Linked DNA regions of Homo sapiens: region 1 is linked to region 2. The links are contacts of gene promoters, found by promoter capture Hi-C in blood cells and fetal thymus (Javierre and others, 2016). All regions are on one chromosome and are shown on one strand. The core of a region is centred on a gene start or on the middle of the fragment in contact, and the rest is flanking DNA. Distances in the headings are between cores, read along the strand shown.

Region 1 (2,700 bases), core at 59-2,558, 480 kb before region 2:
TGCTTTCTCCTTCCTAACATGGTTTAGCTCCAGCCTGAATATTTCTTGAGTTCTTGATGAAAGCAAAATTATATCAGTCAGTGATTCAGATATAACTTCATGTTTGGAGGAGAGAGTTGTTTCCTAACAGCCACCTGAAACTCTAAGCTAACTTGCTTCTCCCTATTATAAATATGGAATTCTACAAAATCATCTGTCTCCCCTGGACCCCTATCCTAGCTACAGTTTCATTGTCACTCTTCCAGGTCCTTCTGGTTTGATACTAGTATCTTTCCAAGCTTCTGTTTAGTCTCTTCAATCTTGAGACATTGTTTCCAGACGTTTCCCTCATTTCCCCTTCCTGTCTTAATTCACACTTCCTTCCAGGAATTATCCTAGCCATACACTTTCTGCTTATAATAATTCTGTCTTCCTTCAATAAGTTTTTGTGATATTATAAAAATAACATTCCTAAGATCAATATGTTCATCTAGATATAGATGAAGAAATCTGTTAACTTGTTAAAATAGGTATTTTGGTTTTCTTTGAATTGTGCAGAAGAAACAACGTTCCACCGCCTATAAAGCAGTGCTTCTCAAACCTGATTGTGTAGAGGAGAACAGATTTTTTTCTCACCCATCATAAGGTGCATTGCTGACTCCTCATGACAAAAGGCAGTTGTTCATGTCATGGCAGCCTTCAAAAATGAAGACAGAAAGACCCAGGGAAAACCATGTATTGTTATGGACAGTCATGCAGAAGTTTGAATGGTAAGAAATTGAAGGGAAGTTGACAAGGTTTGTTTGTCCAGATCCTTCTTGGTGTTTCTGAGTGACATGCCTTTCCTCCGGTTTTAGGGCAGGACACCTTTCAAATGAGGGTGTTCAGAGGAGAAGCAGCGGAATAGATGGGAGAGGTTTCCTAGGTCTTATGACCTGCTTCAGGGGATAATGGAGGAGGAAGAGTGAGAGTGGCCTTCCTGCTTCTGCTGGTTCCTCAAATGCCAAAGAGCCCTATTTTGGGGTAGCACTTTCTGCACCACATCAACCACACACAAGAAATACATGCTGGGGCCCAAGGCCCACCTCAGGGGCTCTGATTTAAATGACTTTGGGTGAAGCCCAGTCATCTGTATTTTTAAAGTGATTCTGATATACAATCAAGGACAAAAATCTGTTGTAATGTGTTAGATTATAGAACTCTGGGTAAAAAGAGCAGCCCTGAGTAAGGAAATTACTACCAGCTCAGGTTCAGTAGAGACAAAGAAAGTACTGAGAACAGATGTTCTGAGGTAGACTTGCATGAGAAGAGGCAACAAAAATAGTCAGGGAAGCTGGGAACCAGGGAACAGGGTAGACTGTCAATGTTGAAAGAATTTAAAGGCCATTTGTGAACAATTTATACTCAAAACTAAGGACAGAATTAGTAACAGGAAGATGTTAAGGATGTATTTAATGACTTAAACTAGGAGCAGAGTGTAAACTAAGATAATGAGTCAGGCCGAAATCAAATAAAAGAGATAATAAACCTACTCTTAGAAAGAGAGATGATCAAAATTAATGCCAAATCTAGTTAGTAAAAGGAAAAAAAAAAAAAAAAAAACCAAGAAAACAAAAAGAAACCTTCCCTAGCCCCCTGAGACTACCTCTACCATCTATCTCTTCCTCTTCCCTCCACAGCCCAGGCAGCATGGCTAAGAAATACGGTCCTATTTTTAATACTTCTTTGCCTCCAGGTACTCATCCACTTGTCCACTCACAGTGGTCGGCTTTCCAGAACAAGGACTCCAGAGCCACTCTCACTAGGTTCATCTGTGACCTCTTTATTGCGATATTGCATGGGCCTCTTTCAGTAATCTTATGGGGACTCTCAAGCAGACTTTGTCAGAGTTGATTGCTCTCTTATTGAATTCCTCTCTCTTCCCTTGGCTTCTATGACATATCATCCTACTGGTTATCCTCCTATATCCTGGAAAAATCTTATTTTTTCACCTTAGTGTTCTCTTCTTACTTTTCTCAGGATCTGTCTTTAGCCCACCTCACACTCCACACTATACCCAGGCATTTTTATCAACTCCTGTGGTTCAACTGTTCTCAGAAGGCTGATGATGCACACATCTTTGTCTCCTGTACAGACACCTCCTCCAAGCTATAGAACTTGCATGTTCTCTCAGATTTTTCATGGGCACATTTACACTCAATATGTTCAAAACTGAGTTCATGATCTTTCTCTAAATTCTTATGATCAGATTCCCTTAGTCACCAATGTCAGAATTAATAAATCATTCTTGATGTTTTTTCTCCCTCTCTCCCCTATGCAAAATGCATAATCCTCCTCCACAAGGTATGGTCTAAGGACAAGAAGCTTTGACATCACCTGGGAGCTTGTTAGAAATGCAGAATCTCAGGCCTCACTTCAGACCTATTGACTCGGAATCTGTAGTTTTCAAGATCTTCTGGGTATTCTTACATACAGTAATGTATATACACTGCTCTGAAATTCACACCTTAAAAATGCCTCAAATTCAACTCCCACTCTTTATCTCTGATGTAACTATCATAAGCTGAGCTGTGGGTTCTCAAAACTTGCTGCATAGTACAATCCCTTGGGGTTTTTTTTTGTAAATACCAATGCCAGGTTCTAGACCTCCAGATTCTGATTTAATTCATCCAGAGTGGAGCCCAGGAATCTGTAAGTTTAAAAAGATCCCCAAGATGTTTC
Region 2 (2,700 bases), core at 12-2,511:
GAGCCTGTAATCTCAGCTACTCGGGAAGCTGAGGCAGGAGAATCACTTGAACCCGGAAGGCGGAGCTTGCAGTGAGCCGAGATCGCGCCATTGCACTCCGGCCTGGGCAACACAAAGAGACGCAGTCTCAAGTAAGTAAGTAAGTAAATAAATAAATAAATAAATAAGAATAATGTTTCATTTTCTGTACTACTCGGGAGCCTGAGGCAGGAGACAGCCTCCTCAATTCAGGAGAATTGCTTGAACCCGGGAGGCAGAGGTTGCAGTGAGCCGAGATCGCGCCACTGCTCTCCAGTCTGAGCGACAGAGCGAGACCCCGATTCAAAAAAAAAACTGTGATTAAGTGGTTTCTAAAACCTAATGTGTAATACTTGCAAAGATAAAATTGCTCTTCTACCAAACCTTTCTTTCAATATTTCTGAAACTGTAAAAAGTACTTTAAATTCTAATGTTATAAGCAAAGTAGCTAAAATGGGGCTGGTAATTTTTCCCCTCTGCTTTATCTTGGGTTAGAGTCGAAGTATTTAAGCACTTCCGAGTATGTAACAGCAAGCAGGTTCACCACACTGGGGAAAATGTCTTGAGTAATGAAAAGAGCACCAAGATAATCTACCTTATTAGGCAATCTAGGCTTTTTTGAAAGTTATAAATGAAAAGAAATACAGTATAAAAGATGTCATTTGAGTATTATCAGAGTAATTTTGCAACGCATTATTTATATATTTCAAATATTCAAGGCACCATATAACTGTTCAATTTTATTTCTTTTTTTTTTTTTATTCAAAGCCTACATTCATAGTTGCTTAATGGGATGTTTTTCTTCTTCATATTTTTAGTGCCTTTCAATAAAATATATCATTGCTTAACATCTACATTTTGCTTAACTTTAGATCTACCCACACATACTCAGGCTGAAAATAAATGCTCTTTTACAAGTTAGATTTTGGGGGATTTTGTACGTTTTGCTTTGCTTTTCGGTTTTCATTGTAACCATAGTCAACTAGATTCAGCCATAAGACATCAACACTGACAAAGTGTAGTCCGGACTAGCTTTTGCACTTCCACATCATGATTAATTTATTATTCATCTGGTACCTTCCTATTAAACTTTGTCTTTAGCCTGTGAACTTTTCTTTCAGCTTCCAACAAAGGATTTCATTGCTTTAGGAATCGAGGTGTGGCTAAGTTTTTACCTGGGAGCAAAGGTGATGCAAGCGTTTCTGGTGAGACCTACCCTTGGTTTAGGGTGGGGAGGGACCGCATAACAGACCATCTGTAGACTCCTTCGGAAAGCAGCAGAGACGCTGCAGAGGGCTTTTCTTAGACATCAACTGCAGACGGCTGGCAGGATAGAAGCAGCGGCTCACTTGGACTTTTTCACCAGGGAAATCAGAGACAATGATGGGGCTCTTCCCCAGAACTACAGGGGCTCTGGCCATCTTCGTGGTAAGTCCTGGATTTTCCTAATAATCACAAACTTCCCTGCTTCCTCCCTTGTTAAAGAATATTATATTTGATTGCACAATCTTTATTATAAATTCTAAAAGGAGTGCAGTGGAAATCAACACTTTGAAATGAAATCGTGAAGATTACCAATTTCCTTCTTTTGTTGTTTTTTATGTTGTATTTTACATAGAAAAATAAACCAGAAAGAAATGAGTTTTAAAAACCATTTAGAATTTTTTTTAGTTAATGAATTAAGTAATCTTAATCACAGGTTATATTTTCCACAACATTTTCACTTTCTTTAAAGTTATGCTTTTACTAGTTTTTCTAACCCACAAACAAGAACACAGGAGCCACTTCTATTTTCCAAGATTACATGTCTCTTAGCATATAGCTAAGAACTCTACACGCCTGGGCTTGATACCTGACACGCTTTTAAAAGTAAAAAATCGCAGAATTAAAATCAAAGCAGTGTTTGACTCTAGAGAAGTTGGGAGGATTATTAAGTAAGTATTTATGTTTAGCTATTATGTGCCAAAAGAAAATGTCAGCCTTTGGGGATGGGGGGAAAGACATACAACATTTTAAAGCCATTTTTTTCAGAAAAGTAATACTTCTGTTGATTGAGAAAGTCGTACATAGTATTATCTAAAAGAGAAACGGAATGTTACAGACTGTTTAAAACCTGGATGTTACAGACTAACTTACTCCTTAACTGTGTTCTTATAGCAAAAAAAAAAAAAGAAAAGTCACAATATTATCTGTTACACGGAGATATCAAAATAGTTAAATATACCTTAAAAATGAATGTCAAAACAATTCCTAATGCTAATTTGTATGGTTTCCATGATAAGCTGGGTTGGCCTAGGCATCAATTTACCTCATTTCTTCATGAAAAAAATTGAGATAAATGGACTTCAAGAAGTCACAGGGAGATAGATCTCAAGAAAGGACTTTCTTAGCTCTCCCTAAGATTTTTGTTTTTGTTTTTGTTTTTGAGACAAGGTCTGGCTCTGTTGCCCAGGCTGGAGTGCAGTGGTGCGATCTCCAACTTCTGCCTCTGGGGTTCAAGTGATTCTCGTGCCTCAGCCTCCTGAGTAGCTGAGATTACAGGCGTGCACCACCACAGCCAGCTAATTTTTTTGTATTGTTAGTAGAGATGGGGTTTTGCCATGTTGACCAGTCTAGTCTCAAACTCCTAGCCTCAATGGATCCGTCCACCTCGGCCTCCCATAATGCTGGGATTGCAGATGT

What was found. Contacts are between HindIII fragments. The CHiCAGO score rates a contact against its expected background, and 5 or more counts as called.
Region 1: a fragment that was not itself captured here is called in contact with the fragment with the promoter of DSG3 in region 2 in 1 of 17 cell types (M2 macrophages); the score reaches 5.2 in M2 macrophages.

The regions. Positions count from the first base shown.
Region 1 is chr18:30,962,473-30,965,172 of GRCh38, forward strand. No RefSeq gene overlaps it. Among named protein-coding and RNA genes, the nearest start is that of DSC3, 79 kb to the right of the region's middle. The HindIII fragment of the contact is 2,065 bases long and covers 277-2,341 here.
Region 2 is chr18:31,446,480-31,449,179 of GRCh38, forward strand. DSG3 (desmoglein 3) reads left to right here and starts at 1,262. Exons shown (of 16, transcript NM_001944.3): 1 at 1,262-1,446. The coding sequence starts at 1,399. The HindIII fragment of the contact is 20,227 bases long and covers 1-2,700 here.